Linked DNA regions of Homo sapiens: all the other regions are linked to region 1. Evidence: promoter capture Hi-C in 16 types of primary human blood cells and fetal thymus (Javierre and others, 2016). All regions are on one chromosome and are shown on one strand. The core of a region is centred on a gene start or on the middle of the fragment in contact, and the rest is flanking DNA. Distances in the headings are between cores, read along the strand shown.

Region 1 (3,129 bases), core at 448-2,947:
TTTGTTAAGCCAAGGCAGGTGGATCACAAGGTCAGGAGTTCGAGACCAGCCTGGCCAACATGGTGAAACCCCATCTCTACTAAAAATACAAAAATTAGCCAGGCATGGCAACACATGCCTGTAATCCCAGCTACTCAGGAGGCTGAGGCAGGAGAATTGCCTGAACCCGGAAGGTGGAGGTTGCAGTGAGCTGAGATCGAGCCATTGCACTCTAGCCTGGGCCACAGAGCAAGACTCATCTCAAAAAAAAAAAAAAAAAAGTCTAAGCTGAAGGCATATAACTGGTTCAGCTGTAGCTACTGGGCAAATAGTTCATTAAAAATGAACACATAATGTAAACCCCTTTAACTTCTAAACACTTGTGATTTTTTTTAGTGAACATTTTTCTGAGGGGAACTGTATAACCACAGGCTGATAACATCATTCAGTTTACAGAAACATCACCAATTCACAAGAATTCAGCCTCTAGGCTTGTTTAATTTACTTTATGAAAGCTTAAATTGCAGCATAATATATGTGCGTTTGGCCTATTTCAACTATTACTCTTTGTTTTATTGGAAAACATGTTTTACTCTTGCTTACTGATTTGTTCTTGCGTTGGGATCATCTCTCCTCCAGGAGAAAGCATTTCCAATTTTATTATGAAAGATTAACAGGAAAATAGAACTTCCTTCACAGACATTGATGTTCTAGGAATAACTTTACAAAAATATTTCTCTTCTCTGAAAACTAATATTTAAATAGGTGTAATCTGAAACTACCAGAAAAATTCAACAAACACCTCCAGCAAATAAATAGCTGAGTGTCTGTGATGTCCCTTTCCTGGGGAAGGGCAGTATAAAGATGAAAATCTTGTCTAGCTGGAAGGCCGTCACTAACAGGGCTGGGGCGCATAACCCTGTGGAGACATTTGTGCCCGGCCTTAAAGGGTGCGTAGGAGTTTGCCAAGTGGACGTGGAAGGAGGCATTTTAATAAGAGGAAAATAACATGATTGGAAGCGTGGAGGTGAGAAAGCATAGAAGCACTCAGAGTGAGGAGAGCTGGGGCTTGGGCCAGCCCACGTCAGCCCCTGCCTGCGGACCCAGCCTCTTGGAGCCAGGCTCACTCACCCTGCCTTTAAGACGGCCCTACCAGAGGCAGGAGAAGGATCCGCAGCCTCAGCTTTCTGTGGCGCAACCTGGCACTGAGTCACTCATACCAATCTCAGCGCCAGTGGCCAAGCCGCTGCTGCCGGAGGGCCTGTGTCACCCTCCCCCCGTTTCCCTGCCCTCTTCCCATCCTACCACCACCCAAGCTCCCTGGCTTCCTAACAGTGTGGCAGGGATCCTCCCAGGCCCCCATCCTCCTCCAGCCTGAGTTCTTCCTCCCTGCTGTCTTCCCAGTCTTCCCCACTAAGATCCCACCACCCTTCAGACCCGGGCTCACACCAGCTCCTGCTGGCCCCATGTGCCTCGCACCGAATACAGGAGGTCGCACACTGCATCCCCAGACACCAAGTACTGCCCTGCTTGACCACCTATGTTCCCCTGGGCCCACCAGCATGGACTCTCCTTCTGTTACCAGTCACTGCCTGATCCAGGCATGAGCTGCCTGTGTCCCCCGACATCATCCTCCTGGCACCATCCTCTGCTCTTCCTGGCCTTCTTCACTGGGAGCCTTCGGGATCATCCCTCCAGATCAAGTTCTTCCAGCCCCACCTCCCTCCCACCCTGTGCACCCAGGGAAATTCATCTCTTCTGGGTCCCAACCTTGGCCTCGGGAGAGCCCCAGATGCCCCCCTCTGTGTCTACCCCAGTTACTCAGTGTGGTCAGACTTGGGGGTTGTACAGTTTTCTGTCTCATGATTCATTTCCCCAGGCAAAAAGCTGGCTAATAATATCTGGGTGTGCGGGGGAGGTACCAGTGTGTTTCTGTGTTTGGAGGTGAATTTTTTTCTACTTTAGAATTTAATCACTTCTACTTTGAGCAGTTTTTAGCTGAGCTGACAGTAATATGCTCTGCATTGAGTATTTGTAGGGGGTGGAATTAGTCACCACAAATTTCAATTTTTGGACTTTCCTGATAACGCCACAAAGCTGAAAGGCTTCTAAAGCTTGAGCAAAGATTGGAAACTTGACCCCAGGGGTTGATGGTTGATCTTTATAAAAACGACCTTGTGGTCAGTTTGTTCTTTTATGCTTAAATTGTCAAGGTCCCTGTCCACCCCAGGAATTAATGTGGTGATGTGGAAAGAGCACTAGACAAAGGATTTCAAAACTGTCTTTGGGCCCTTGGCTCGTGGCCTTAGCTCTCTGACATTCTTTGCTTATAAAATGTACCCCCTGCCGGGGCGAAGTACAATCCTTACCCATTTTGCATGACTCAACATTTTATAATGGAAGCTTCTATTTTTGTCTGGCTAAATCTTTTTCAAATAAAAATATTTCTTGGTCTGTATATTTTTCATGTCTCAGACATTTTTATCAATACATAATGTCCTAGCTTTTCACATCTTGCAAATGGCACAGAATTGTGAAAGAATACAGCAAAAAGCTAGAAATATACCTGTGTATATAACATTGCTGGGGATTTTTATGTGTGGTTTCTTGTGGGTTCTAGTAAGCACGTTCATTTCATTACCTACAAACGCATAGAAAAATCCAACATAATCCCACACTGATGAGAAGAAGAGAGGGTTGTTTGTCAGGTGGGGTAGTTTCACTTGACTTGAAGGTCTCACCCCGCCCCTCGTCTTTACCATAGCATACGCTTCTAGATGCTTCTGCTGCATTGTCAACCAGACTCTACCAGAACTGTTTTTCAAAACATGTGTTCCTAGGATTTTACCTCCCTGCATTTTTTGCTATATCTATTAAGTAATGCATGTATATAATTAAAAATCAAATAGTCCTATAAGATGTATAATGAAAACCAGCAGTTTCCTATTCCAACCCTCCCAAAGATGAAGTCTGATGTTGCAGAGCCAATCACTTTCAGCGCAGCTAGATGTTTCTTCGGATAATCACCGCGCTATCTGTAACTAGTATGCACAGGCTGCTGTTTCTTGATTTACTGGGGTCATGATCTCATTCTCTTATTCCATTACCTTTACTTCTACTTCCTTGCTCCTCTCCATCTTCCTAAGATGG
Region 2 (3,129 bases), core at 464-2,963, 340 kb after region 1:
TTGCTTGTCAGGGAGAGAACAAAAGTGTCTATCCTCTTTTCTCTTAAGTTTATCTGTTGCACAGTTCCCTCTTTTTGGAACTACTCATATCTTTTCCTTCTGCTGTGAATTCTGTAAGATAACTTATAACCAGCAGGTGTAATTTATATCTTTAAAGTTGATTTTTATATTTGGTAATTAAATCTGAAAACTTAGAAGAATGTGAAAATATTGCATAGTTTTCACTTTGGTTTTTTAACTTAATTTTTTACCGTTTTTAAATTCTCTTAACATGACGATTGAATCTGTAAGTTTAAAATTGGTATTTCTTTTCAAAGTACTGCATTAAGTATTTTTCATTCAGTATATGCAACACTTAATATTTAAGTGCCATGTACTTAGTGGAACCTTCTCAGATGACCTTCACCCATTGTCCTTATCCATATTTCTATGATAACACCTACCATACTGCATTTCATTTGTGTTCACATTATTCTCCTCCACTAGACTGAGATTCTTGCGATCAGCGATCATATTCCTTTCTCCTTGCTAATGAATGCTCAGTAAATGTTGGTTAAAGGAGTGAATGAATGCCATAGGGTATATATGCTTTGATACTATCTGTAATTTCTGTGTCTGTGCAGGAGTTTGGGGAAAAATGAAAGAGGAACTGGAATTAATGATTCAGACCTTTTTATAGCTTTGAGGAGAATGCAGATTTGTGGCTGTATACCAAAAAGCAGTGATTTTCCACCTTCTAAAAACTCATATCCCACCCCTTTTGATACACTTCAAGAGAGTCTTCTACCCTTTCTCACTAAAAGTAACCAGGGCTGCTTTGAGAAATGGCTGATTGCAAGTCTGGAGTAGATGTACATGATAAGCTAGAACATCTTGTCATATCAGAAAGCAGAGAAGCTTTGAAAAACTACTGGATTCATGTCGTATACCGAGGAGCCAACTTGAAGCTGTTCCCAGTAACTTGAAGAGGGGACATAATGACCAAAACTGATTGAAACACATCAAAATATTAAAGACACATGAGTTTATAATGATACTAAAAATAAATCATAGTCACCTTTGGAGGTTGCTAGGGACCAAATTTGTTACTCTGAAAACTAGTGAAAAGAATTTTTTTATCCTGCCTCTTCTGTGCAGAATGTAACCAAATAGTTGAAGAGAGCAAGCATTCAAGGAAGAATTGCTGCTAAGAATGAAGATGAAATCCATTTTATGTTTTTTGGAGACTGGGTCTCGCTCTCACCCAGGCTGGAATGCAGCAGTGGGATGATCATGGCTTACTGCAGCCTCAACCTCCTGGGTTCAAGTGCTCCTGCTACTTCAGCCTTCTGAGTAGCTGGGGCTGCAGGTGTCCTACTCTACCTGGCTAATTAAAAACAAGATTTTTTTTTAGAGACAGGGTCTCACTATGTTGCCCAGTCTGGTGTCAAACTCCTGGGCCCAGCGATCATCCCGCCTTGGCCTCCCAAAACGCTGGGATTACAGGGGTGAGCCACTGCGCCTGGCCAAAATCTTATAATTGGGACATTCCAGTATTACTGTTTAGCACCCCTAATGAAATAGTGTTTCTAAGCAGTGATCATCAATAGCTGCTAAAAATCATCAGTTGGATCAAGCTGACAACATCTGAATCTACCAGTTGGTTTTAAAATCACAAAAAGACAGGCAAACATTGCTGTGTCTCCTTGTATGATTTGACAGTGGATGTCTGTGATGGTCACCAAAAATTCAAACATGGACTTCATCACATCCCTAGATATAACTACTAGTTTACAATGAAATGCAGGGGAAATTGATTGACCACGGGGTGCAGTCCAGAATAGGGGAAATTCTACTACACAAATACCAAGTTTTCTCAACAAACAAATGGCTAGAAAAAATTTTAAAAGAGGGGAGGGGCTGGTTATTAGAAGAAACCTAAAAGGCTTATCAGCCAAATGAAATATGTAGGCCTTATTTAGATCCTGATTTAAACTAACTGTACAAAGACATTTTTATGCTTTAATTTAGTGCTATTTGAATATTAGGTGATGCTAAGAATTGATTATTTTAAGGTATGATCATGGCATTGTGGTTATGTTTTTAAGTCCTGTCTCTTACAGTACATATTGAAGTATTTACAAATCAAAACGAGATAATGTCTGAGACTTCATCTAGTTTGGTAGGGGGAGTAGCTGAGGCATATACATCAAACGAACAAAGATGGGTGATAAGTATGTGGGAGTTTATCATATTTCCTCTCTCTTTTATATATGTTTAAAATTTTCTAAAATAAAAATTTTAATAAAAAGTACATTTCCTTTTGTCCTAATGTAACCTTATAAAACCCCTGTAAGTTCTTTTATGTTTTGCTATTAAGAAAGTAATGTCTGTAGAGTGTAAATAATTTGAGTGCACATAAATTATGGCATAACTGAGCTAGAATATTGCTTTTTGATATGAACATATTGAATAATTACAGAGATTACAAAGGATTAAAGGAATTTTTGAGCGCTCAAGAGAATTAAAGAGGAAGGCTAAATATGAGTATCAAGCTTTTACAAAGGAAATGTGGAATTGGATTTGGTAGGGAATGTAAATTTTAAATTGAGAATGATGACAGAGAGGAGGTGAGAGGAAGATAAACTCTCTGAGCTTTGGCTTAGAAGGAAGAAGAATTTACTTGGAATGGCAATAAATTTAACTTAAAGCAAAAAGGGCCAATCAGGTTTGGCAAAAGATAAGATCTAATTATAATAGGAATCGTTGATAAAGATTGTGATCAGTTTTTCAACTTTATTTGAAAAATTAGTATGTATCAATTAAGAGTTATTAGTAGGATAAAAGGATTTTTCTACCATGAGAGGTTTAAGTTGTTGGTTTTAGGAAGGGGGAAGTCAAACCTTGCTCACTATCCTTTTATATTACCTGTTGAAACAATGTGAACTGTCATTTCCTTAACAAGGCATCAAGATGCCTTTTTAGTCCACTTCTTTCTTAATATGATTTTTATCTCATATCAAACTGCCTGTGGACATTTTAACTTGGTTATTCATCTTTCTTAAGTCTAAAACTCTCCTTTCTGTCAGGTTCTTAATCTTCCAGGCTTATTTGAATTGTTTCTCTCTTGTGGCCAAATTGTGTTGACAA
Region 3 (3,129 bases), core at 377-2,876, 320 kb after region 1:
TGTATGTAAGAGAATACAGAACACTGTTCTGCACTTAGTGGTGGTAGTTTTTTAACTGAGTATTGTTTCTTGGGGATTATTCCATATTAGCATCTCATTCTTTTTAATGGCTGTATAGTACATTATACTTTTGTGAATGACCATAGTTTACACATCACTATTAACAGATACGTAAGTAGTTTTTGGTTGTTTATCATTAGAAACATGCTTTGGCAAATATATATAGTTTTCTGTGTGACTGTATCTGCAAACAGATTCATAAAAATAGAATTGTGAAGTCAAAAAATAAATGCAGTTTTAATTTTGATACAGATTGCCAAATTGACATCTATAGAGACTGCACTCTGAGGTGAGGATTCCCCTCACCAAGTGATGTGTTAACAGACATTTGGATGTTAATTAAAGATCATTATTTTTTAATAAATTAAATCTCCCATGATGCGCCGCCCCTATACTTTTTTGTTTGGTCTCCAATTTAAAATTTTCCCCAGTGAAAATTATTTACATGATAATGTCTTTCTGTTTTTGCCAAATATTACATGACTACTTCCTTGCATTTTCTGAGGTTTTAATAAGTTTTAATGTCTGCATAATAGTCAAGTATTAATAAATTACAGTTTGAAAAGCTGCTTTCCAAAAGTTAAGCTGTTTGGTTCTTTTTTGGTTTTTACTGTTAGAAAACTATTTTAAACTTAGGGCAGGTGTGGTGGCTAATACCTGTAATCCCAGCACTTTGGGAGGCCGAGGTGGGTGGATCACCTGAGGTCAGGAGTTCGAGACCAGCCTGGCCAACGTGGAGAAACCCCCGTCTCTACTAAAAATGCAAAAATTAGCCGGGCGTGGTGGCAGGGACATGTAATCCCAGCTTCACAGGAGGCTCAGACAGGAGAATCGCTTGAACCCAGGAGGTGGAGGTTGCAATGAGTCGAGGTCACACCATTGCACTCCATCCTGTGTGACAAGAGCAAAACTCCATCTCAAAAAAAAAAAAAAAAACTATGTTAAACTTACGTTGAATTACTTCCTTAGCATAAATTCCTAAGAGAGAAAGGTACTGCTGTCTTTTGATTACCTTACTTACATGACACTGTTTACCTGTGTGCTTCCTACCTCAAGATGCTTATGGATAAATAGGATCATGCCCAACTAAATTTGAGAAATATTGCATCTGCTGCTGCTACCCAAAGATTAACAGTGCATATTAAAGTCCAGAAATAAAGAAACCTCCTTAACTTTAAGTAACAGCATTTTTCAAATGTATTGCCACAAAAAAAAAACTTATTTTTCCATGTAACACTTAACTAATGCTATTGAAAGGCTCTTTGAGAAGTGATAAATGACAAAGTGATATATTGGGCTTTCAAGTAGATTTCTTAAAATTTGAATTATTGAATCTGTTCTGATACCTCCTAATTTAATCGTATTTCCTAATGTCCTAGAGAATTCCAAATGCTTATTTCCTTCTAACTAAAGGTAATGGTAGTTCTACTTTAGCACATAGAAATGTAGGAGACTGCCATTCAACAGGTATTTGTAGAAAACTTAGTATGGCCTTATTAAAGGCAAGATTTCACAGTGATTCTGTGACTAAAATTGGGGGTTAACTGAAAGTGAGACTCAACTTCATTTTATACACGTAGATGTGGATTGTCAAAATGAGCAACCATTAAACAAGGTTACAGAAATAAGATGATAATCTTAGTTTATTCAGGCTGCTGTAACAAAATACCATAAACTAGGTAGCTTATAAACAGCAGAAGTTTATTTCTTGTAGTTCTGGAGGCTATGAAGTCCAAGATCAAGGCACCAGCAGACTGAATGTCTGGTGAATTCCCACTCTGTGGTTCGTAGGTGGCACCTTTTAGCTATGTCCTCGCATGGTGGAAGGGGCAGCTCAGCTCCCTCGGGCCTCTTTTATAAGGCCACTAATCCCATTCATGTAGGTTCCACACTCAAACCTGATCACCTCCCAATACTGTCATCTTGGGGGATAGGATGTCACATACGAATTTTGAGGGGACCTGACCATTCACACCATAGCAGGTGAGGATGGATCTAAAGCATAAAAATCTTTCCAGCCTTCATCTGTAGATCTTGACATCAGATGTTGAGTATTCACTCTTGTAGTGTGGAATTTAGGATTTTGTTTTTGTTTGGTTTGAAATGAATTCCAGCATTAAAATCTCTTATATGATTAATTTGCTACAAACAGACTTTCACCTATCCATAGAATTTTTTTACAGTAATTTATAAAAATGCACCTGTCATTTCAAAAGAGCATATCGTATTTTTTACAGATACCTTGACTATTCAATTATTTCATTCACCAGCATTATGACATTTATAACAGTCTAGTGGCTGAAAACTGAAATAACCACGTCTTTATTATTTACTTTTAATTTATTTTTACTTTTTAAAAGTAGTGTGTTTTCAGCATGAAACATTTTAGCCGGGTGCAGTGGCTCACTCCTGTAATCCCAGCACTTTGGGAGGCTGAGGCAGGCAGATCACGAGGTCAGGAGTTCGAGAGCAGCCTGGCCAATATGGTGAAGTCCCATCTCTACTAAAAATACAAAAACTAATCGGGCGTGGTGGTGTGCACCTGTAGTCCCAACTGCTCAGGAGGCTGAGGCAGGAGAATCACTTGAACCCAGGAGGCGGAGGTTGCAGTGAGCCAAGATTGTGCCACTACACTCCAGCCTGGGCAATAGAGGGAGACTCCGTCTCAAGGAGAAAAAAAAAACACACACACACACACACACACACACACACACACACATTTTAGCCTTGATGGATATAAAGTAATAGTAAAGACTCTTTATCAATATGTAAATGGATTACATTATACATTGTTTAATTTAGTCTATGCTTCTGCCCCCTTGAACGGTGTTAATGAACATCTGTCCATGTCAGTACATTTAGATGAACTTAATACTTTACAACATTTAACTTGTTTCTGAATTTGTCATGTTATAAATTATACTGTAATAAACATCTTTTCTTATGTATCTTTTTTTTTCTTTTTTTTTGAGACAGAGTCTCGCTCTGTCACCCAGGCTGGAGTGCAATGGTGCGATCTTGGCTCACTGCAACCTCCATCTCCCAGGTTCAAGCGATTCTCCTGTCTCA
Region 4 (3,129 bases), core at 468-2,967, 300 kb after region 1:
TAGAGGCAGGGTTTTGCTGTATTGCACAGGCTAGTCTCAAACTCCTTGGCTCAAGTGATCCTCTTGCTTTGGTCTCCCAAAGTGCTGCGATTACAGGTATGAGCCACTATACCTGACCTAGTTTTTTATTTTTACATCAAATAAATGAAGCAACTTGGCAGGGCTCTTTGAAGAAAAATACAATTTTATGAAGTGTTTGTGATTAAAATATTAATAAGCAGAGTAACACCTCATTCATCTAGTATTCTTAGGTAGTAAGTACATAAAATGATTGAAACTTACTCCTGAATCTATTTTAGAGATTTTATAGAGATTTTACAATATATTATGTATATTGTGTGTAGATAAATATAGATATTCATACCTCCAAATCTATTTCTTTATAATGTTTCACATACTTTGCTGCTTTCTGAAATAGTAACACCTCCTCCCCTCCCCCACTTTTACCCTGCATACTAAACCTTTTCTGGAAGATAGAAATAAACATTTTGTTTCAGAGCTTCAGAATGAGTCAGGAACCCCGGGTTCTAGTCCAGGGCCTGGCACTAAGTTGCTATATGAGAACTGAATCATAGATTCTAGAACAGTGCCTGGCACGTAGTAGTGCTTAACCAATATGTTTGGAATGAATCATTGTCTTGTGCTGACTTTAGTGCTCCTTCCTTGATTTATTACTTGGAATTCATTGCTGCCTAGTAAATAAGCTTCTGGGTTCTTAATTAAATAGGAGTATCTAGGTTCTGATAGAGGTGAACTATAAGCCTAATTTATGTCTGTTTTAACTCCTTAGTGGAACTTTTGGCTTATCTTGATGTATTTTCTGGTACTCGAAGTTGCCAAACAGATGATCTTCTGTGCTTGATTTATTGGGGGCACTTGCTGAGTACTTTATATGTGCCTATATTATGTATATGCAGTGTTCTATGTGTAAGCACATAGCACATGTCTCCGGGGATCTTATAACTTAGATGAAGAGACACAGAAGTAGACTGTAAGAGAATAATTAAATGTTGATTCATAAAGCATTGACCTACAGCTACATTAGTAGTTGTAGGAAAAGATCCATGTGGGCTGAAGCAGGATAAAAAGAATTCAAGTAGAAGGTGAAATTGGAATTGGTTTTGAAGAGGTAGTTAAGATTTTGATAAGCCTCAAGGTGAAGACATAACATTCTAAGCAAGGGCAGTAGTGTAGTAAGCAAAGAAAGGAAAGTGTGGGTTGAACATGTTCAGACAGGCCTGCCCAGATTCCTAAGGGTGTGGGGACTGCTGGGAAATAGAAGCAGGTGAATTTAATAGAGTAGTTTTAATCTGCAAGACCCTGAAGGGATCCAGGGATACAATTTAGAGGGCTGCATGCATTTAGATAAAAAAAAAAAAGTGACATCTTTATATTTTTATGAACTTTGAACTGAAATTTAGCATTTACTTTTAATAAGATTTTAAGCGGCAGACTACAGTAATATTAGCAGTACGTATATCTTTTATTACTAATAGAAAAAGCACAGATATTTTCAGATTACAGCTGTTGATATCTCTATAATTTATGCATATTACTACTTCAGAATTATGGTTTTTATTAGACTCCCACTAGATTTTATTGTATTATTACTAAAGAAGCATATGTATGAATATATCACATACAAGGTTTTTAAAAACACTTGATAACTGTTTCGGTATAATTGGTTTTCTTAGTAATGTATATTTTATGCATTTAAAACCATATTTTCAAAAACAACTATATTTTAGTAAAACTGGCTTTCTTTATAATCCTAGATATTGTATTTTATGCATTTAAAACCACTCTGAGGGGGACTCTGTAGCTTTCTCCAGACTGCCAGAGGGATTCATGACCCCCGATCTAGTGGAACCAAACTGGAGAAGGCATTGAAAAACCACACTGAGGGGTTTTAGCTGAAGTGATAAGCAGGAAAGGAGCCTTGCCAATTTTGTTCATTTGTTTGTTTTGTTTCAGTTACAGAATAGATGTGTTAACATAGAAAATTTCAAAGTTTCAACCAGTTTAGAAAAAAGGGTCAAACTCTTCTTAGCTCACAATTGTAGATAAACTGTTTAAAAAAATAACAGAAACTCATCTTGTAACACCACAGTCACTATCCTTCCTCTTTTATTATTTATCTGTTTCAGTTTATTAAATTCCTCTGCAATTGAGTGAAATATTTAAAGTGGTTATATAGGAAACTTTCTTAATCTCTTATACTATACTTACACAGAGGGTGGGAAGACTGGCAGGGAGCTAAGCAGTGGGTCTGGTCATTTATATGTTTGATGATAGGGATAGGGTGGTAAGCAGTTAGAGATAGAGTAAAATTGCAGGAGATATTGGAAAGAAAAAATAATAGAACTTGGTGGTATGGGAGCTGAGATGCATGGAGTCAGGTAAGAGAGAGTATCAGGAAGAAAGTTAAGTATAGGGTGCCTAAATTAGGATTCCTAGAATAATATTATACAGGTCCACAATGCTTTATCTGAAACCCTGAGGCCAGCTGTGTTTTGGGATTCAAACATTTTTGGATTTGGGAAAGGTAACGTGTATATTGTATATTACATAACTCTCCCAGCAAGGTCTGAGGTATCATCCTGTAACTAGACACTAGTATCTCTGCAGTGAAGGTGAAAATATTCACAGTAAGTGGGCTAAATCAAGCCTGTAAATAACCTTACATCGGTTCAACTCAGATTTTTGCCACCACCAAATGAGTTTCCATATGAAGCTTCGTGGAAAAATCTTGTCCTGACATTTTATTTCAGAACTATGGAAGTAATTGTGGACTGTATTGACTGTAATAACCATTGAGGAGAGTCTTAGAAGTTGTATTTTAAGGAATGTTAATTACAAAATGGATGCGATTTCAAGGAGTTGGGTAAAGGTAAAGAAAGAGAAGAGAGAAGAGTTAAGGTAACTTCACTTTGCAGGCTGAAAAGAAATTGCTATTTCTGACAAAAATGGAAAGTTGAGGAGGGAAACTAGTATTGGAAGAGTTTAAGTTTAAACATAAGTACAATTAAGATGAAACAACATATTTTTGCTTCACATGAAAGCTTGGAAGTTGTTGGAGTGTAAAATTTCCTTTTAAAATGAAACCTAGAAGGAGCTTAACAGCAACCT
Region 5 (3,129 bases), core at 248-2,747, 280 kb after region 1:
ATTTGCATAAAATACATCATCCTACCATTTCAAAAGCAATTGTTGCCTCTGTACTTTATAATGGTTTCAAAGACAAGTGAAATTTACTTAATGGATTCAGTTTATCTAAAATTATTTAATCAATTATTTTATCATTGAGTATGGAAATAATTCCTCAGAGAACTGCTGTAAAGCGTTAAAGTTAATGATTTCTTCTCGCCAGTAAAACTAGAATCTTCCCAATTTTGTAAATCCTAATTTTACTTTTGCTTCTCTTAATGGTATCACCAATGGAGAATAATTAAATTCCGATATTGTAAATCATAAGTACTTTCAGCTTTTGAAGTGGCAAAGTATTTGAATTGGTGCTATAGCCCAGACTTCAGGTATTTTCAAAGGATGAATGAGGAAAAAGGAAGTGGGGAGAAAGAACTTTTAACTGTGAGGAAGGCTCTACTATTTAAAAGATGGTTTAAAAAAAATTCTCACTGTAGCTACAGTGCTCACACTGGAAATAAAAGTATAAAAATGGTCCTTTAGGATTTTTCTCTGGAGTAAGAATTGTTTCAAGGAAGAAACTGCCAGGGATATGGACATTTTGGACAGGGGCAGAAAAATGCCCTAGTGTTTTGGACACCATGGAAGCGCTAGAATTTTTAAATAAATATTTCACATTGTGAGAAACGTCTGAGTATTAAACACGCTTTTTTTTTCCCTAGGGGGACACTAAACAAATATTTATTTAAGGAGGTAGAAACTTGAAGGCCCCCCCTCTTCCCGCAAAGCTAGTCTTTGGCTCTGCTTCTAGGACTTCTAGGAACGTGCAATTAAAATAAAATCGAAACAACGAAACCCTCGCAGCATTTAGATTTCTTTTTTCCCCCTCAACTGCTCAAGAAAAGTCAGAAGCCGACACTTTTTCCAAGTCTCGAAGTTGCCAGTTGTGAGGCTCCCAAGACGTCTCCCGCACACCCTAGGGACGATTCTGCACGGGTCCCTCCCGTTAGCCGGCGGTGCGATCCGGCTCCAAGGGGGTGTGTCCCGGACCGCAGCGACCCGGCGCCAGCCTCCGCCGCGGGCCCACCTGCTCCTCTCGGCCGCCGCAGCGCCCCGGGGTCCGGCCGGGCCCCCGGACCCCACCCGCGCGGCGCCGCCGGCCGCCCGGCAAGTCCCGCCACCCACTTCCGGACCCGGCCAGCCCCTCCGCTAGGTGCAGCTGGGACGCGAGCTCAGTTCCTTTCTTCCCTCAGCCCAAACTGCTAGCGGCCCCCGTGGCGGGAGGTGGAACCCGCAACCTACCCCCAAGGATGGGGGGCCCAGGCGGAGAAAGGGGGTCCCAGCCCTCCCCGGGCTGCCCGCACCGGCACCCCCCTCGCACGGCCCCAGCGGCGGCCCGCGTCCTCCCTCCAGCCCTAGCAAGACAGGCGTAGAGACTGCGAGTGTCGGGGGAGGGGTACAGGTCGGAGGAAGAGCATCCCCGGGCCGCAGCCGCAGCCGCCGCCGCCGCCGCCGCCTGCTGCTCCCCCGCCGTTCGGCTAGGGGAGGCCTCGTCACAGCCGCCGCCTCAGCCGCGGCTGCAGATCTCGCGGTGTTTGCCGGCCGCCGCGCCGCCATATTGTGTGACAGTATTTTGATTTGGACTGGGCTGGCGGAGCCGCGGCGAGAGCGAGCGAGAGCTGGGGGGGTGGGGGGAGGGCAGGCGAGCGCGAGGGGGGTGGGGGCAGAGGGAGGTGGGGAGGCCGAGCGAGCCGGAGCTGAGGATTGGGGAGCGGCGACGCCGCCCAGCCGTCGTTTTTGATCTGCTGCAGCCGCCGGCGGGGCGACCCAGCCCGACCCCCTCCCCTCCCCCTCAGCCAGGAGCGGTGGCGGCGGCGGCGGCCGGAGGGAGTTGGCGGCGGCGGGCGAGCGGAGGGGGCTGAGCGGGGAGGGAGGGAGGGCTGAGGTGTCCCCCCTGCCGGGTGGAACCGGAGGCGGCGGCGGCGCTGGCGGCGGCCGTGGTGGCGGAGGCGACGGTGGAGACGGCTGCCCTAGTGGGAGAGGCGGCGGCGGCGGCGGCCGAGGAGGAGGAGGGGGAAGCGGCGGCGGCAAAGGGTAAGCGGACAGCGCTGCCGGGCCTCGGCGGGATCCCCAACCTGGCTCTCCCCTCATCGCCCCGCACCCCCCTCCGTCTGGAAGGGGCTCTGCCGCCTCGCGAGGCCCGTGCGGGGCGTTCGCTTCTAACTTGCACTCTTCCTCCCTCCGCCTCTTTCCTTCCCCCAGTGGCGTGGCGGAGAGGGAGGCCCCCCGAGTCCCCCAGTCCGGTGGGGGTGGGGAGCATCGGGCCGGGCCTGGGCTCCGGGGCGTCCGTGCGGGGGGGGAGGGGGAGCTTCATTGGAATCGAGCGCCTAGGAGAGCCCCGGGTGGGGGAGGGCGCAAGGGGCTCGGGAGGGCCCCTCCCTGCGTCGGCGCCCCTGACCCGCCCCCAGGCATGTGTGAGGTGGGGGCGGGGGAGGAAAAATCTCCTTTTGGGGAGCCGAGGTCTAGTTAAAGATGACTCAGGGGCGGGGGTTTTGGGGACAGACACGGGGCAGTTATGTGGGGGTCGGGCGGGAGGGAGAACATCGTTCCTTTGCGGATCTTGGTTTTCTGCAGCCGTCTTTGAAGTGGGGGGCAAGCCCTACTATGAATATGTGGCCCCTTAAATTTCACTGGATGTTTCTGGTTTTCGGTCCCATCAACCTCAAACCCTACGATTGTGGTTGAGTCAGGGAGGCTGCAAGGGTCTCTTGGCGGTGCTGAACAGGTGACAGGTGGATCTTTCTGTTGCTGATGCTGTGAGATGTTCAGGCACAGTCGTACACCAAAGTGTCAGAGACCGTGTGAGTTTGTATTTATGTGTTTGGCCATGTTTCATTCCATATATAGTATATTTGAGATGTTAGGTTTCCATTCTTCAAGTCAGCTTAATTGTTGTGGATAAATTCTTCAAATGTTTCTGATAAGAGGGTTTTCCAGGAGAGCGGAGGGAATTTGCAGCCTCACAGGGGTTTCTCCGTAGTTCACGAAATTTAGGCCCCCAGTGCAGGCTGTTGAGTACCCTTATTCATTGGAAAGTTCTTGAACGCTAAGATCGTATTCAGAGCAACTGTACGGCAATATAATTTTGCATCC
Region 6 (3,129 bases), core at 419-2,918, 290 kb before region 1:
ATCCCTTAGAAAGTGGGCTAGGACAATGTAAAATTGGACAGTAGAGTTGTGTGTGTGTACGTGTGTCTCTGTGTGTGTGCAGCACCTGTCACCTCATCTACACATCTCTCTAGCTCATGATATATGTTTCAAATCATGAACCAGAGACATTCATATATGAACATGGTTAAGACATATTCATTCTTTCTTTCTTTCTTTTCTTTTCTTTCTTTTTTTTTTTTTTTGAGACGGTGTCTCGCACTGTCGCCCAGGCTGGAGTGCAATGGCGCGATCTCGACTCACTGCAACCTCCGCCTCCCGGGTTCACACGATTCTCCTGCCTCAGCCTCCTGAGTAGCTGAGGTTAAGACATATTCTTAACGAGTAAGTTCTTTGTCTAGGATAATATTTTGTAATTTTCCACAGAATATTCTTCAGATGCCTAACTTGATGAAGGTTTTCAGGAGCCTAGTCTTAGAATCATAGAGGTTCTTGGCTCCTGGTTCCTTCTTAAATCCAATTGTTCATTACTGGAATATACAAATGAGTAGGGAGCCAGAAATGATAGGCACCAGAAACTGAGGTTTCCATTTCTCAATGTGGCCTGAACTAAATGAATTAAATCTCATCCTCCTATGGGACGTGAAGGAAAAGGGCTCTGGCTGGGAAGTACTGCTGTGCAGTGGTTAGTATAGTGGGTCTGAGGGTCAAATAGATTTGAGTGCAACTCCCAACCCAACTCCTACTACTAGCTTTGGGACCTCGGGTGAGTCACACAGCCCTCAGGTGCTACAGCTTCTATAAATAGTGATATAGTATTCTTACTTAAAGTGTGGCTGATCAGAGCAGCCCTTCCGTGGATCAACCACCCCATCAGAGGATCTATGTCTAGGATTGAGCCTTTTCTGCCCCAGGAGGTTCTTTCAGGTCCAGAGGCTTTCCCGTGGAGGGAAGAGAGGCAGCAATGAAATCAGCGTATAGGCGGACTGGGCTCTTTCCCCTTCATGTCTGCAGGGCAATGACCTCCTAGAGTCCGCTATGCACCCCCCACTTGCCTCTCTGGGCACTGCGAGGTGGAGCAGTTGTAGGACCAGGAAAAGCAAGAACAGAGCGTCCTCTTCGGCTACCCTACCCGGGAGTTCAGGCGCTGCGCCTGGCCCTCTGGGGCGTGTTTGACCATAACTCGCACCGCTTGCTCTTTTCCCATTTCAGCAAAGTCTTGAGCCTGTATTCTAGTACCTTTTATCAGCCTTGGGTAAGCAGCTCGCACGGGGTATATAAGGAGAATCAACTTTCTGAACTGAAAAAAATGTAAATAGTAAAGTCAGTCGTGCTTCTTCCTGCCGGTGACTGTTTACAAGAGGGAAGTCAGCGGGGCCCCCAAGAGGTCGCTGGTGGCGCAGGAACCGCATCCAGATTGTAAAGAACGGGGGAAGGAAAAAAAAAGAAAACACCCAGAAACTTTCTTCCTTGTTGCGAATAATCGCCGCCTCCCCCCCTCCGCCCCCAGCAGAAGCAGTAACGTGACACCCGAGCGAAATCCCGAGACCCGAGCGGAGAGGGAGGGGAGAGGGAGGAGAGTGCTGCGGAGCGCCGGAGGGAGAAAGGGGAGGAGAAGGAGGAAAACCCCTGTCAAGGAGGTGGAGCGAGGGGATGGTGTCCGCCTCCTGTTCCTCCCTGCCGTTTTTTAGAGAAGCCTGAACCGGGACAAAACACGCCGAGACCTACAGACACAAAGCCGGGGGGTCCACGCTGGCGCTGGAGGCGAGCCCCGGCGGCCGCAAGCGAGCCCGAGGCGCGGCGGGGCGCGGGGCGTGGGGACGCTAGCGGGCGCCGGACGGGCGCGGCGCCCCGTCACGGGCAGCGCCCCGAACCGGGGCCGGACACCTCGGCCGCTCGGGCCGCGGCGGCGGGGACCATGCCGAAGAAAGTCTCCTGAGCCCGGCAACTTCGGCCCCTCCCCGCCCCCACCCGGCTGCCCTCCGCGCGGCCCTCCCCATGTGCAGCCGGCCAGCCGGGCTCTCCTCCTCGCGGCGGATGGGTGACCTTTTCCTGGCACGGGCAGGCTGTGGGAGGCAGCGGAGCAGGCGATGAAGAAGAAGCAGCAGCATCCCGGCGGCGGCGCGGATCCCTGGCCCCATGGGGCCCCTATGGGGGGCGCCCCTCCGGGCCTGGGCAGCTGGAAGCGTCGGGTGCCCCTGCTGCCTTTCCTGCGCTTCTCCCTCCGGGACTACGGCTTCTGCATGGCCACCCTGCTGGTCTTCTGCCTGGGCTCCCTCCTCTATCAGCTCAGCGGGGGACCCCCTCGCTTCCTGCTCGACCTGCGGCAGTACTTGGGTAAGGAAGCTGGGCAGGCGCTAGGGCGGCGCCGACAGCGCAAAGTTGTGCGGCGGGGAGAGGGTCGCGGCGGGGACTTCTCGCGCTGCCACCGCGCGCCGCCGCCGCCCCGGGTCTCTCCAGGTGCTAAGCCCGTGAGCATCTGTGCCGCGGTCGGGAGCGCCTTCTTCCTCCCGCGCGTCCGACTGTCCTCACCGAGGCGGGGGCGCCGCTGGGTTGCGCTGCCGGCAGGTACCCCGGGGCGAGGCACCGCTCACCTTCCCCCCGCCCCACCTCCGCCACCCGGATCCGGACTGGGGCGGAGTGGATGGGTGTGTGGGGTGTGCCGGAGTGTGTGTATCTTCAGGCCTGGCGGCGCGGGGAGTGGCGAAGGGAAGGGAAGGTCCTCTTCGTTGCATTGTTAGTGACCGCAGTTCAGTCCCGTCCCGCGCCCCGGGGAGTGTGGGTGGGTTTAGCCCTTTGCCACCGTCCGCTCTGAGAATTCTGTCCCGCAGATCCCCCGCCTGCCCGCCGGCCCTAGTGGCTCCGCGCTGTCCCCGGGCTGGCTTGTCCCTTGGCTGCCGCTGCCCACCCCGCCGCCCGCAGCTAGCCTGGCGCGGGGAACGGGTTGCATCCAGGGGTTTGGGGATGCCCGAGGGCGCTGGTCAGCCTGGCCAGCAGTGTCGCCCCCAGTAACCCGAGGATCCTCGGCGCTGTGTGCGTCTCAAGCTCAAGTCAAAACTTGTGTGTGTGTGTGTGTGTGTGTGTGTGTGTGTGTGTGTGTGTGTGTGTGTGTGGTTTATTAGGAGAGAGGCCGCCTGTCTTTAGCAGAAG
Region 7 (3,129 bases), core at 219-2,718, 260 kb after region 1:
TTACTGTGACTGGATGTCATCAGTAGAAATATTATTTTAAGCCGGGCACAGTGGTGCCTGCCTGTAGTCCCAGCTACTCCAGAGGCTAAGGTGAGAGGATCGCTTGAGCACAAGAGATCTGGGCCATAGTGCTCTAAACCGATCAGGTGTCTGCACTAAGTTTGGCATCCATATGGTGACCTCCCTGGAGCAGAGAACCACCAGGTTGCCTAAGGAGGGGTGAACCTACCCAGGCTGGAAATGAAGCAGGTCAAAACTGTCACACCGGCCTGGGTGCAGTGGCTCACGCCTGTAATCCCAGCACTTTGGGAGGCTGAGGCGGGGAGATCACTTGAGGTCGGAAGTTCGAGATCAGCCTGGCCAACATGGCAAAACCCCGTCTCTACTAAAAATACAAAAATTAGCCAGGGGTGGTGGTGGGTGCCTGTAATCCCAGCTACTCAGGTGGCTGAGGCAGGAGAATCACTTGAACTGGGGAGGTGGAGGTTGTAGTGAGCCAAGATCATACCACTGCACTCCAGCCTGGGTGACAGAGTGTGACCCTGTCTCTAAAAAAACAAAAAACAAACAAAAGAAACTATATACATTATTTTAGATTTCTAGGAGAATGAGTACTAATCACAGTGATGTTGCTGGTCATATAAATAGTAGAAGACATGGTGCCAACCCTTGAAAGTTTATAGTCTAGCTATGAAGACAGATCATAAGAACTAAATAATTAGAAAAGTTATAAAGCAACATACCAATGAACATTCATTAAAATTTTTGCAAATTAAGACCTAAATGAGAAACTTCATAAAGGAGTAATCTTAGAAGCCTTCCAGAGATGTGATCAGGGACTGGGTTTTGCAGAATGTAAGTATAAGAATGTTAAGCAGATTGATTCACTAGACAGAGGCATAATGCCTCTGATTAGTACAATGCTCTGTAAAGAGTAAATGGTTTAGTACATATTTTACAACAAAAACTGACTCCCCTCATTTTCCAGTGACTTGGAGCATCAGAAAAAAACTCTTTCATAATCAGGAGTGCATGTGAACTAAACAAGTCAAGATAAAAAGCACAGCTTTAGAATGAGTGATTGATGCAATTAAAATTATTAGTAAGCAACAGATTGGCTGTAAAGTAACAAGTTTAAACAATGAGACTACACCAGCAAGCATTTCTAGAATTTCTCCTTACTTTGAAAAAGAGAATAAAATAAACTTTGAAAAAGGGAATGAAAGAAATTGTTTTAAATGGAAGAAGAACCAGTCGTTAAATTTTATTTTTGAAAAAACACTGAACTATGCTGTTGACAGGATTCAAATAGGTAAATTAAGGAGCATAAAAATGACATATAGAATGTCATAAAGATGACATATGTCAAAAAATGACATAAAGAAATCCAGCATATTTTTGATTTGGAACAAAAGCACCCCTGAAGTTTCTAAAATTAATATACTCTACCTTAGTTAAGCAACAATGAGCTTTCTCGGGAGTTTTTTCATAGCTAACCGTATGACCAATTTCTTTAATGTTCTTAATCTTAATTAAATTCCTTTGTTTTTCATTAATAAAAGTACCATATAACCTAATCTAATTATAAAATTTTTTCATTGTTACTCCATATATGAGGACTGAATTAAAATTCTTTGGCCAGATGAATAAATTAATTTTTCCAGGTACGTATCTTCACTAGTTTTCCTGATTGAAATGTTGGCAAGTTGGGAGTTTCCCGTTGAGCTTTGCTTCCCGTGAAAACAACCATGAGAGAACTCCAGAAATGGCCTTCTCAGGCCAGGCTTCGTGACTTTCAGGCCTTTGGTTAGAGGGGCCCAATAATGGCAATACATTAGAAAACTTCTGATTTCTTCCTCTTTTTAGAATTGTTGAGAGAGAAATGTGGGGGGAAGTGTAAATGGAATTATTTCATTTAGAAAAAAATCATTGAGTATAAAATGTTCTGAAATTTTTTATTCTCTGTAATATAGTATAAATTTGTTTTATATAAATCTACCATCTGATTCAGGATGATTAGTAATCTACCTCTTTTTATCCTTGAGAGAAGGCTGGAAAGTGCAATTGAAATTTTTCTCTTTTTGAGTCATCTCCAGTAAGCTGTCATTAATTCACTTCTTATGTGTGTTGCTATTGTTTATTTGCATGGGTTTTCTGGTTTCAAAATAGAACTGGTCTGAGATGCAGCTGTCCTGGCTTGTTGTTTGAATCTTTGCACATTCCAATAGCATTTTCCGCTGGAATGTTGAATTTAATGAATGAAAGACCAGGTGTTCCAGGTACATTCAGCCTGGGTAGAAAAGGGCATAAATGACAGGGTCCCAGTGCCTTTTCAGATAGTTAATAAATTAGCATTCATGTTAACTCTTCAAAAAATGTCCCCCTAAATGTAAGTTTAACATGTTCTGTTAAAGTGAAATTTATGATATCTTCCAAAATGTTGTTGGATCACTTCACAGATAATACAACCTCATTTACATCATCTGATAATATGAAAAGAACCATCATAGAAGCAGCTATTCTGCTATAACATAATAATTTAATTACTATGAAACCTCAATTGATCCAATATATAATGTTATAAAAAATTTGTTTCAATGGTGAAAAGGCAGATAGAGACTAGAGAGTATCAAACACTCAGTAGCAAAGTTATTTTCCCTGAAAAAAAATTAATAGAAGATTTTTAAAGTTATAAGTGAAGAGCTAAAAAAAACCCTAAGAATTGCTGTATAAATCCAGTATCTGATTATATCTGACTTTGCTAGAGAGTAATGGCCTTTATTTTGTTTTAGTCAGTAGCTATGTTAGTTTGCTAGGGATGCCATAACAGTACCACAGACTGGGGTCACTTAAACAACAGAAATGTATTTTCTCACAATCCTGGAGGCTGGAAGTCTGAGATCAAGGTCTTGGTAGGATTGGTTCCTACTGAAGGCTTTGAGGAAAGGATGTGTTCCAGACCTCCTTCCTTGGCTTGTAGATGGCGTCTTCTCCCCGTATCTTCACATGGTCTTCCCTCTGTGCCCATTTGTGTTCAAATTTTTTCTTCTCAGGACACCAATTATATTGGGTTAAGGTCTATTCTAATGGCCTCATTTTAACTTTACTTCTTTGAAAAGACCGTATCTT

What was found. Contacts are between HindIII fragments. The CHiCAGO score rates a contact against its expected background, and 5 or more counts as called.
Region 2: a fragment that was not itself captured here is called in contact with the fragment with the promoter of UST-AS2 in region 1 in 15 of 17 cell types (total CD4 T cells, activated CD4 T cells, naive CD4 T cells and 12 more); the score reaches 15.0 in total CD4 T cells.
Region 3: a contact is called between a fragment that was not itself captured here and the fragment with the promoter of UST-AS2 in region 1, in 14 of 17 cell types (activated CD4 T cells, non-activated CD4 T cells, M1 macrophages and 11 more). The highest score is 15.4, in activated CD4 T cells.
Region 4: a fragment that was not itself captured here is called in contact with the fragment with the promoter of UST-AS2 in region 1 in 14 of 17 cell types (activated CD4 T cells, M1 macrophages, non-activated CD4 T cells and 11 more); the score reaches 16.2 in activated CD4 T cells.
Region 5: a fragment that was not itself captured here is called in contact with the fragment with the promoter of UST-AS2 in region 1 in 10 of 17 cell types (non-activated CD4 T cells, megakaryocytes, activated CD4 T cells and 7 more); the score reaches 7.5 in non-activated CD4 T cells.
Region 6: the fragment with the promoter of UST here is called in contact with the fragment with the promoter of UST-AS2 in region 1 in 2 of 17 cell types (total B cells and naive B cells); the score reaches 7.0 in total B cells.
Region 7: a contact is called between a fragment that was not itself captured here and the fragment with the promoter of UST-AS2 in region 1, in 5 of 17 cell types (non-activated CD4 T cells, naive CD4 T cells, total CD4 T cells and 2 more). The highest score is 7.1, in non-activated CD4 T cells.

Annotation. Positions count from the first base shown.
Region 1 is chr6:149,030,964-149,034,092 of GRCh38, forward strand. UST-AS2 (UST antisense RNA 2) reads right to left here and starts at 1,698. Exons shown (of 2, transcript NR_134599.1): 1 at 1,562-1,698. All of the region lies in intron 7 of UST (uronyl 2-sulfotransferase), which reads left to right. RefSeq lists an enhancer at 2,102-2,291. The HindIII fragment of the contact is 1,599 bases long and covers 493-2,091 here.
Region 2 is chr6:149,373,015-149,376,143 of GRCh38, forward strand. All of the region lies in intron 2 of TAB2 (TGF-beta activated kinase 1 (MAP3K7) binding protein 2), which reads left to right. Among named protein-coding and RNA genes, the nearest start is that of SUMO4, 26 kb to the right of the region's middle. The HindIII fragment of the contact is 1,637 bases long and covers 896-2,532 here.
Region 3 is chr6:149,354,689-149,357,817 of GRCh38, forward strand. All of the region lies in intron 1 of TAB2 (TGF-beta activated kinase 1 (MAP3K7) binding protein 2), which reads left to right. Among named protein-coding and RNA genes, the nearest start is that of TAB2, 39 kb to the left of the region's middle. The HindIII fragment of the contact is 8,099 bases long and covers 1-3,129 here.
Region 4 is chr6:149,335,556-149,338,684 of GRCh38, forward strand. All of the region lies in intron 1 of TAB2 (TGF-beta activated kinase 1 (MAP3K7) binding protein 2), which reads left to right. Among named protein-coding and RNA genes, the nearest start is that of TAB2, 19 kb to the left of the region's middle. RefSeq lists an enhancer at 1,158-1,307. The HindIII fragment of the contact is 2,030 bases long and covers 703-2,732 here.
Region 5 is chr6:149,315,946-149,319,074 of GRCh38, forward strand. It overlaps TAB2 (TGF-beta activated kinase 1 (MAP3K7) binding protein 2), which reads left to right and starts at 1,767. Exons shown (of 7, transcript NM_001292034.3): 1 at 1,767-2,070. RefSeq lists silencers at 910-979, 1,030-1,569, 1,660-2,559 and enhancers at 2,650-2,829, 2,990-3,099. The HindIII fragment of the contact is 9,290 bases long and covers 1-3,129 here.
Region 6 is chr6:148,745,362-148,748,490 of GRCh38, forward strand. UST (uronyl 2-sulfotransferase) reads left to right here and starts at 1,669. Exons shown (of 8, transcript NM_005715.3): 1 at 1,669-2,316. The coding sequence starts at 2,070. LOC124901425 (a long non-coding RNA gene) reads right to left here and starts at 238. Exons shown (of 2, transcript XR_007059806.1): 1 at 1-238. RefSeq lists enhancers at 1,298-1,357, 1,418-1,497, 2,806-3,129 and silencers at 2,068-2,157, 2,458-2,627. The HindIII fragment of the contact is 11,485 bases long and covers 1-3,129 here.
Region 7 is chr6:149,291,312-149,294,440 of GRCh38, forward strand. It overlaps a transcript of TAB2 not described here and the pseudogene RN7SL234P. Among named protein-coding and RNA genes, the nearest start is that of TAB2, 25 kb to the right of the region's middle. The HindIII fragment of the contact is 8,368 bases long and covers 1-3,129 here.